Regions from separate parts of the Homo sapiens genome. Here region 1 is linked to region 2. Evidence: promoter capture Hi-C in human tissues and cell types (Jung and others, 2019). All regions are on one chromosome and are shown on one strand. Each heading gives the region's core, a stretch centred on a gene start or on the middle of the fragment in contact. The rest is flanking DNA. Distances are from core to core; before and after follow the strand shown.

Region 1 (5,514 bases), core at 219-2,718, 1.1 Mb after region 2:
CTCTAAAAGCCTTGGAAGGTAAATTTGGACAGATGAAAATTATGGGGAATTTCTTCCTTACCAAACATGGTGGCAGGAAGAGCCCTCATGGGACAACTCCACTCATCCCGGTGGCACCTCCGTCTGCTTTCCCTGTCCTCTCTCTAAGTACCCGCTAGGCTCTGAGTGCTGCCCATGTCAGACTTTCAACTACATGGTAGCCATCAATCAACTCATGTTTGTAGGCAATGATTCTTAATCTCAGAACTTATCTACCAGAAACACAAAATAAACAGTTAATGTATCTCCCATCCTTACATGTAAGTTTTCCAGGGCACAGAGGGAAGGGAGATACAGCTCCCCCAGAGCAGGCTGTATTTCCCCCCAGCCCTCTCCCACCCCCCAGCATACGAGTCTAAAGTAAAGAAGTGAGAAAGGTCACCGGGAAGGCAAAGGGTGAGTTGGTTTGATCATGACAGGGGTTCGGAGGGTGATTATTATGGCAGAGTCTCAGTAATATCACAGATGTGCATGTGGACCCCAAAGAGGACACCTCAGCAAAGTCCTATTTTCACAGAGTGTGTGAACATGTGGATGACCTGAAGGCATCCGTGATAAGGAAGATCCCATCCTTGCCAAACTCTAGTCAGGCATCTCTGAGTGCTCTTCCCAGCGAGGCCCTGATTTGGGGGCTTCTATGTCTGTTTCTGCAATGCTCAATTTTAGCAAAAGTCCTGCTGAGTCGAGTTAGCCAGAACCCTCACCCTCAATATCTGATCCCCTTTGCTACTCAATGGGGCTCCTCATCCCCCACCATCCCCCAGGGAATCTCTGACCACCCTGGCCTGCCTTCGCCTGGAATCTGGTTAGGTTGGTTTAGCCAGAAGCCCCCTCAGCCCTGAGGCTTCCTTTTAGTAGTCTTCCATCCACTGCTCCCAACTCTGCTCCTTGGCTGTAAATTCCCACTGTTCCTTGCTGTATTTGGAGCGGAGCCCAATGCCTCTTCCCTACTGCAAACCCCACTGCACTGGTCCCTATGACCCTGCATGGTCTCCCTGAATACAGTCTGCCTTCATGTTTTAACAAATGTCCTGAATAATTTTAACAATGAGGTGTGAGAGGTAATCAGGGACAGTCTGAGTGTGTAGTTTGGCAGATGGCTCTAGGTTAGATCAGATTCCCAGTCACAACTCCAGCCACCAAAAACTTGCAGATGTGTATTATAAGGCAGGGTGTAGAAGGCTCCTGGGGCCGCTAGGAAACAAGCTGTCCCTGAGAGGCTCTGCAGGGAAGGCCTGGCTTCTGAGGCAGCAGCCTCTGCTCTCTAAGTCCCCTCCTGGGCTCAGCATGGCTGGGACTCTTTTCCATGCCGTTGCACCTGCTCAGTCTTCCCAGGTCAGTCTCCTCCCAAACAGGTCCCGCCACACCTCCTTGCCTTGGTCCATTTCCTCCGTCCTCATTGAGTCCTTTGCTTCCTTTTGTTCCTGAGCTGCCTTTCATGTTACCTCCACACTTGGAATAAAAATGCCTCCCACTTCCCAAGCACAAAGAGCTGCCCACTCCCCTGATTAACATCCTCCAGGGGGGTTTTTCTCCTGAAAAGCCCATCTGGCCTCCCCTCCTCCTCACGCCCAGCACATCCACTGCAGAGGGCTGTTCCAGAGATTATTGTGCCCAATGTGCCGCCTGCCCTGCCCTGCCGACTCTGCATGAAGGGTTTCATCTCTGGCTTCCTTCTAAAACCCAACTGACTGACTGACTCACTCCCTCACTCACTCAAAAGAGCTACCGTTCCATCATCTTGCTTTATCCTCCCAAATACGCCAGTTACACTACTAATGATAGTAATATTCCAGTGAGTCATTGAAATATCTTATTTTGCAGTACCTACAGTTTGCTTGTTGAATTTACATGGGTGTGCACGGAGCTTTGCATTTTAAAATTAACAGAAGACGTCATTTCTTCTGTTTAAGCAGTGGAACCGTCGAAATAATCCTCTAAAGTATTTAGGTTCCCAGATTTTCACAACCAAGCAAAGGAGAAAGAGGGATTTATTTCTAGAATCATGGAATGATAACGCTGGAATGGCTCTTTGCACTCAGTGGGTCTATTTTACAGACACTGAAACTAAGGCCCCAAGAAGTCAACACACTTCTCAAAGTCATAGACTAAGTTCATATGGCTATTTTAAATATGTAATAATAAGGAATAAGACGCTATTTATCTCACAGGCACTGCAGGGAGGGAGGTGATTAAACAGAACGCTCAAAGTAGAGGAACTTGTAGCTAGCAAAACTCCTGAAAATACGACAGTCCTGGGAGTTGCAGTGGAGAGGAAGCAGAGGCTATGCTGTAGAGGAAGGTCACAGGAGGGACGTGGAAAGGCCCCAGGGCTGTGCTTCTCACATTCAGGTGACTCACCTGTGGTCTTGTTGCAATGCAGATTCTGATTTACCAGGTGAGTCAGGGCCCAAGAGTCTGCATTTCTAATAACTCCCAGGCGATGCTGACATTACTCTTCCATGGGCCTCAGTTTGAGTAGCAAAGATTTAGATATTCTGTTTCAGGAGCCAGGAAGTTAAAGGAGGGCTATATATACCTGGACTTGGAACCAGACCCCATGCCAGGGTCCCAGGCCTGTCACTGATTGGCTCTGTTGTCAGTGGGTGGAGTTACACCTGTCTCTGAGCCTCAGTTTACTCATCTGTAAACCAAAGGAGTTGTCCAGGGTGACCTCCATGACTGCTGAGGTCCCTTTAAGCTGGAATGTCCCATGACTCAGAGCCCTGCAGTGGCCAGCACCCCAGGAGGAAGGGAGGGGACACGGAAAGCTGTTGTGAGAGATGGACAGACCCACAAGTCATCACCTCTCTTGATGCCCTTGGCTGGGTAGGGGTGGGCCTGGAATTTTCACTAACATGCTCCAGACCACTCTCTCCATGCTTTGACTGTATTCTTGAACCATGCATGTGGTCCCAAGTTTTCCATCCTCTTCATGCCACTTGGTCCTTTACTCCCCACTACACCACAACCTCTGTGTTCCTTGCCCTCAGGATGACCTTCTCCTCACCCTGGTTATGCCATCATCCTTCCCCTTCCATGGCCCTGTATATAAGAACTGATTATAATCACAGTATATTCTGTGTTTTAGCAGAGCATGTCAACATTGCTGTACGCCATCATCGTGCCAGCTCAACACAAACTCTAAAGAAAGTGACATTGGTGCAGTAAGAGAAAGATAGACTTCCCCTTACCTGAAAGGAAGTGGTATCCTGGCTTTAGGGAGGAGTTCATCAATTCTACAGAGGAGATTTCACATCTTTACACAGGTACACAAACTACACAAAGAGGGACATTCAGGAGGGGAAACACTGTGGTCGCTAGAATCCCTATGTGACACCATGGTCTCTCTAGAGTGTCTGTGTGACACCATGTTCTCTCTAGAGTGTCTGTGTGACACCGTGTTCTCTCTAGAGTGTCTGTGTGACACTGTGGTCTCTCTGGAGTGCCTGTGTGACGCTGTGGTCTCTCTAGAGTGCCTGTGTGACGCTGTGGTCTCTCTAGAGTGCCTGTGTGATGCCGTGGTCTCTCTAGAGCGTGTGTGTGACACTGTGGTCTCTCTAGAATGCCTGTGTGACACTGCAGTCTCTCTAGAATGTCTGTGTGACACTGTGGTCTCTCTAGAATGCCTGTGTGACGCTGTGGTCTCTCTAGAATGCCTGTGTGACACTGTGGTCTCTCTAGCGTGTCTTGTGATGCTGTGGTCTCTCTAGAGTGTCTGTGTGATGCTGCGGTCGCTAGCTAGAATGACTATGTGATGCTGTGGTCTCTCTAGAATGCCTATGTGAACTTAGGAATTCACACTCCTAGGCTCAGTGCAGGCTGAGCACCAAAGTGTGATCTCATCAAGTGAAATAACCCCCTTCTCTCAATTTCTCTTCCTGTAAGGAGGAAAATGCCACTTTCCACCCACAAAGCTCTCTAGAGGACCAAGAAGACAATTCTGTGAAGGACGTCCACCAGGAGACAGGAGCTACAAGACAGCTTTCTGGAGCTGTCCTCCTAAGTCCCCATGCCAATCAGTGTATAGTAATGTCGCCAACTTCAAAATCACGGAAATATGTTTGCATCAGACAATGGCTTCAATTCCAACACATGGTACATTCCCACAAGTTTGGATTTCCATAGGAAGAATAAATAACACTGGCTTCCTTGAATGTCCTGGATGAAAACCACACATCCTTCCAAATCCTGTGGAAAAACATCTCTGGCTCCCTCCTTCCCTTAGAATCAGACCCTTCAAAATCTTGTGGTATTTCCCCAAATACCATAATTTTGAGTTGTGACATCTGGTTTCCAGTTCTCCCAGGCTGGGGTTTCTTGTTAAAGGGACATCGGAATCTCGACATCCCGAGCTGCCACCCTGACCTTGTGCAGGAGTCTCACTGCCCCACTTCCTGGCATCCATGCACTCTAGATGGTTCTGGCACTTCCCCCAGACAAGGAAGCTACATTTTTTTCTAGGATGTACCTTTTTAGAAGCCTTTGTCTCTTCCAGAAGGTATGTCCGGCACGATGGGACTCCCCCACTCTCCCTTGCCTCAAACATCACGGAACATCTAGACATCAGTGAGCGTCCCACTAGAAAAAGGCCCCTGAATCTTCAAGAAGCTCCAAGAGGGGAGTTAGATTGTCTGGAAATTCCCCGAAGTTCTTCCTGCTACACCCACTGGAGCCCAGGATTTGAGAACCAAGCCCGCCGGCCGCGGCATACTAGGCTCGGCTTTCTGTTTCGAAGCTCGAGGCTGTACCGGGGAGAGAGGATGTGGTCCATGGGAAGGGGAAGTGCCACTGCTCCAGGGAGCCAAGCATGGCTTCCTCAGGGCCTGGCTCCTCAGGCAGCAGGAGGTGGGCAGCACTGTGCAGCGGGTAAGAGCACACGCTGTGATATCAGATAGGCAGGTGTTGGACTCCCAGCTCTGGCCAAGTGACCTCTGGCAAACCCCTTTCCTCCCAAGCACTGGCATCCTCACAGGTATAACAGGATACAGATGGTGGGCAAATGCCGCGGCCACATCCTACACGGGGAGAGACGCTTCATCAACAACAGCCATGAACACTGTCTGGCCTGTTCATCAGGGCCCAGCAGACCCATCACACAGACACATGGTAAAAGCACGAGGAATATTTCATTTCATGGTCACAGGTAAGTGCTTAAGCTGGTAGTGAAGGAGGAAGCCCAAAGGCTACTGAGGCGGCATCACAGTGACGGTCAAGAACAGGCCAGAGGCTGGCTGCAGTGGCTCAAGCCTGTAATCCCAGCACTTTGGGAGGCCCAGGCGGGCAGATCATCTGAGGCTGGGAGTTCGAGACCAGCCTGACCAACACAGAGAAACCCCATCTTTACTAAAAATACAAAATTAGCCGGGAATAGTGGCGCATGCCTGTAATCCCAGCTACTCGGGAGGCTGAGGCAGGAGAATTGCTTGAACCCGGGAGGCAGAGGTTGCGGTGAGCTGAGATCGCGCCATTGCA
Region 2 (5,026 bases), core at 533-3,032:
GGGTCTGAGGCAAAGCTAACACCCATGAGGGAAATGATTCATGCAATAAATTTTAGGCCGGGCATGGTGGCTCACAGCTATAATCCCAGCACTTTGGGAGGCTGAGGCTGGAGGATCCCTTAAGCCCGGGAGTTTGAGACCTGCCTGGGCAACACAGTGAGATCCCATCTCTACAAAAGACATATTAAAAAAATAGGTGGGTGTGGTGGCTAGTGCCTGGAATCCCAGCTGCTCAGGAGGCTAAGGCAGGAGAATACCTTGAGCCCAGGAGTTCAAGCTCTTAGTGGTCTTTGGATGACTAAACTTCAACACATCTTAGCTCAAAATCTCCGATCACACCACTGCATTCCAGCCCGGGCAACAGAATGACACCCTGTCTCTAAATAAATAAATAAATAAATGTTAATTGTGTAGCTATTATGTGCCAGGCACAATGTGGAAGGAAGGGGATACATTAGTGAATAAAACAGATCCTTCCTGCATGGTACTTAGTTTCTAAATGGAGACACACCATCAACAAGCAACCATAAATACGTTCTTGCAAACTGAGAGAAGTGCTATGAGGAAAATGTACAGGATGCAGGGGTGGAGGATGAGGAGGTCGGCTACCTTAGATGCCGTGGTCACAGAATGGCTCTCTGTAGGAGATTTTGAGCTAAGATATGTTAAAAGTTTAGTCATCCAAAGATCACTAAGATTAGTCTATAGTCTGACAACTTAGTAACTATTGACTTATGGCAGGGCAGAATGGGTGAGGGGAGGGAGGAGTCGTTGGGTTAGGTTCCTCTTGAAGGGCTCTAATAAGACCCTGATAGACCGACCAGGTTACAGTCCGATGGTCATAATCCAGATGAGAGATATCAATCTTTAACTGGGGTCCCGAGCATATGGGGTAGAAATAACAAGGGTTGTTGATGGATTAGATGTGGGATTTGAAGTTTAGGTCTACCAAATCCCTGGGACCCTTGCAGTCAGCTCTTTCTTGGGGAATGGGAAGTGGGTTCCAGCAACCTGAATTCAAGTGCATGACGAAACCAGAAAAAGCAAACGCCAAAATCAAAACTCGGAGCCTCAGAATACCTGCCAATAGATGCATATGCCCCAGCTTTCCGTGGAGGGCAGTTTACCAGAGCCCAGTGCAATTCCTAATTTCCATAAAGAACCCACATACAAATAAAGTCTGTCTAGTTCACTATGGTTAAGGTAGTCAGGAAGTGTGCCACATTTTACAAAATTTTCCACCCAAAATGTTTTTTTTTAATGGTGCTTAAAGGAAAAATTCTCATTTACCTGGAAAACTTAACTCCCCAAAGGGAAGTTTCGTTCAGATAGCTAAAGCATGCCAATCCCAGTCCCCAAGGGAACTGCAACAACGTCTCACCGGGCGCACTGCCTTCAGCAGTCACTTTCGAGTTTGTTGCCAGGTGTCCGAGCGGGTTTGAACGTCCGCGTCAATCCACACAGTACAAACCGGAGGAGGGGCCGGGACCACGCTTCCCCTCCAGGACTGCCTTTTGTACGTGTGTTTTGTTTCTGTTGCTAAGGTTTAGGGAGCTGCCCGGCTACCCTCACGGATTCCCATGGAAACTACCACCTCCCAGAGGACAGGAGGAGAGGCGAATTCAGGGTCCACCCACGGGCCCCGCCCAGGGATGGGGTCACTGAGGGTCCGGGCAGCGAAGGGCGGGGCCCGGGAGCTGGGCATGGGCGAGGCAGGCGCGAGAGGAGAGGGGCGTGGCAGGTCCGGGGCGGGGCCTGAGTGCGCCTGCGCAGTCCGCGCCACTCAGGGAGCCGGAGGGGACGCGCCGGAGGAAAGATGGAAGACTACCAGGCTGCGGAGGAGGTAACCGCCGGGTCGGCGACGGAAGGGTGGAGGCCTAGAGCCCTGGCCGCGGAAGGACACGCGGTCCTGCCCGGAAAGGCCTGGCTGCCCACCTCCTTCAGCTAGGCCAGTCTCGGCAGCCCACGGCCTGAGCTTCCCGGTCGCCGGCGCTCCGCCCGGCCCCATTCTGCCCGGACATTGCCGCCGTTTCCCCGGCGCGGGGGGCGGGAAGGGGATTGAGCTTCTTCCCGCGCGGGGAGGCACCGGGCGTGACTCGGAGAGAGCGCCCCGGTGAGCGGTGCCGAGAAACCTTCCCGCAGGGCCTCGCCTCCGGCCCGCAGCCAAGCTCGCCGAGAGGATGACATCACCGCCCCTTGCTCTGCGGGGCTGACCCCAGCCCCAGCCCCAGCCTGGAGCGGGGCGCGGCGGCCGGGCTGGGAGCGCCGAGGCTTGGACGTCTCCCCGCGGAGGTGCGGGTGACGCTCCCGCCGCCAGCCCCTCCGCCCCGGGCTGGCGTCCCGGCCATCCCGCGCCTTTGTCTCGGGCCTCACCTGGTTCTGCAACGCTGGGAATGAGTAGCACATTTCATTTCCGTTTAATATGTCTGTAAGAAAGCTCATTGTTGTGGGGAAAAAATCATCTTTTATGCCTCCTTGAGGAAGTAGGATAAAGCCCACGATGTCGCCAAGCAGAAGACACCCATCGGCACCGTGTGCGTTAAATGGCTTTCCTTCAAGCTCACGGTCATTCGGGGAATAGAGCTGATGGGCGCAGCTGAGATACAACACTCATTTTCTTCTTACTGAATAATCCTTGTTGAAATTCAGATAGAGCCCTATGGATTTATTATGCAGCCTGTCAAAAATATAAACTATAGATACATTTGGTAAGGTTGGATATCTTACCATTTATGAAATTTAGTGGCTGGGCGCAGTGGCTCACGCCTGTAATCCCAGCACTTTGGGAGGCCTAGGCGGGCGGATCACCTGAGGTCAGGAGTTCGAGAGCAGCCTGACCAACATGGAGAAACCCCGTCTCTTTTAAAAATACAAAATTAGCCGGGCGTGGTGGCGCATGCCTGTAATCCCAGCTATTCGGGAGGCCGAGGCAGGAGAATCCCTTGAACCTGGGAGGCAGAGGTTGCCGTGAGCCAAGATCGCGCCATTGCACTCCAGCCTGGGCAACAAGAGCGAAACTCCGTCTCAAAAACCAAAAAAAAAGAAAAAAATTTCGTTTAAGGAGGAATGTTTTCAGGGAAAATAAAACTAAAACTTAAGGACTGATTCTAGAGTTTCAGTTTTGATCTGATTTCCTAACTAGCACACACTTCCTGTGACAGTGGCATAATCAGTGTTTGAATGCTGATGGCAACCAAGTGAATAATGACGAGAAGAGCTGGTTCAGGAGCAGTTGGCAAAGAAAAAAGCCTTTCCCCTTAAACTGTTACTAATATAATATTGGAAAATGTCTTGTATTACAGTAATATCGAGTAAAACTTCTAAAAAAGAAATCGCTTTGTAAAGGAAAGCGCTTAATACTGCAGTCCGATTCTGACTCCCACAAATAAGGTGGCTAAGTGGCTTCATTATTCGAGATCTCAATCGCATATGTGTAAAATGAAGGGGCTGGACAGAGTGATGAGTGTTCTACCTGGGATGGAGGCCCTGGGAGGTGGAGACCATGGCTGTCTTGTAGTAGGCATGTCTTAGGTATTTACTGAATGGCCCGTTCTGGTCCTCCCACCAGCCTCTTAGCAGCCTTTTCTGCATCTCTTCTAACTTCGTGTAGATGCCTGGGCCTTTGTAACTATTCTCTCAACTCACCATTCATCTTTCTTGGAGACGTTAAAACTATCCACTGGATTCAATACAACTCTGCTTTCCACTAAAAATTCTTTAAAATGTCCCTCAACCTTTTTCGTACTGTAACCATATGGGAGGTGATACAGTGCCTTTCCTTTGTGATTAAGGTCACGGTAGTCACTTGGAAGGATCCTTTAAGCTTCCAGAAATGACTTAATCTCTAAGATATTGCAAATTGTTCTTCACTCAGTGAGTTGGTTTTGTTTCCAAGTCCGACTTCTGAGTACAGCAAGTGAGGTGGCTTCGGGCAGTCAGCTCCTGAACCCCCTAAAAAGAAAGGGCAGGGCCTGCAGTGGACAGCAGCCAGACAGGGAGGAAGACTCACTGCCAAGTCAGGGTTCTCTGCCTTGATTCCCTCAGGATGCACGTTGACTGAGGGCCCCAGGGGTTGCCCTCTCGAAGGCGTGTCCAGAGCTACGTACCTTTCCTGGGACTCAGCAGTAACTTTAAACGCTTGTGCTCATGTGAAGAGCACATTGGCAGGCAAGTGCCTGACTAATGTTATTTTCAGGATGACCTTTTACCCATTCAGATCTACCATGTGTAAAAGGAAAACTATACTCCTGGCACTAGATTCCTGCAGGCAGCCCACCTCCTGAGTCATCCAGACACTGACAGAGAACAGCCATGCTGGCAGCTGGTGGTTAGTCCTGGAGTCGGAGGGCAGCACTGGGAAAGAAAAATAATTACCTGGAGATAATGTAATCATCGTACATTTTACAAGTAATGGTGCTTTAAAAAAATCTCCTCAAGGTCAAACTGATCCTCCTAATCAGTTTACATCATGGAAGAGAGAATTACATCTTAAATGGATTACTTCAGCAGCTTCAGTTAATTTATACAAAAATCAACCAACTCATTAAGCCTCTCTATTGGTTAATGATTCTAGCAGCCAGTTGAAATGGAAGAAGAGAATGAATTCTAGTTTAAAGTGAAGTCTTAGATTGTGGCATGATTAAAACAAAACAGGGCCAGGTGTGGTGGCTTACGCCTGTAATCCCAGCATTTTGGGAGGCTGAGGCGGGAGGATCACCTGAGGTCAGGAGTTCGAGACCAGCCTGGCCAACATGATGAAACCCCATCTCTACTAAAAATACGAAAATTAGCCGGGTGTGGTGGAGGGCACCTGTAATCCCAGCTACTTGGGAGGCTGAGGCAGGAGAATCACTTGAACCTGGGAGGCAGAGATTGCAGTGAGCTGAGATTGCGCCACTGCATTCCAGCCTGGGCTACAGAGCGACACTCCGTCTCAAAAATAAATAAATAAAAATAAAACAATACCTTTAAATTATGTGCATGTATTCTAGTCTTCTGGTTTCTGAAGACTGTAATGCCATCCTTG

The links. The method cuts DNA at HindIII sites, captures the fragments that hold promoters and counts their contacts. A contact is called where the count stands out against the background at its distance.
Region 1: a contact is called between a fragment that was not itself captured here and the fragment with the promoter of DYNLT1 in region 2, in 1 of the 25 tissues and cell types used here (lymphoblastoid cells).

What each region holds. Positions count from the first base shown.
Region 1 is chr6:157,548,499-157,554,012 of GRCh38, reverse strand. The region is part of intron 2 of ZDHHC14 (zDHHC palmitoyltransferase 14); the gene reads right to left. Among named protein-coding and RNA genes, the nearest start is that of MIR3692, 22 kb to the right of the region's middle. RefSeq lists an enhancer at 970-1,792 and a silencer at 3,650-3,850. The HindIII fragment of the contact is 3,701 bases long and covers 1-3,318 here.
Region 2 is chr6:158,641,499-158,646,524 of GRCh38, reverse strand. DYNLT1 (dynein light chain Tctex-type 1) reads left to right here and starts at 1,782. Exons shown (of 5, transcript NM_006519.4): 1 at 1,782-1,843. The coding sequence starts at 1,817. It also overlaps a transcript of SYTL3 not described here. RefSeq lists silencers at 1,625-1,854, 2,015-2,344 and an enhancer at 1,468-2,411. The HindIII fragment of the contact is 14,460 bases long and covers 1-5,026 here.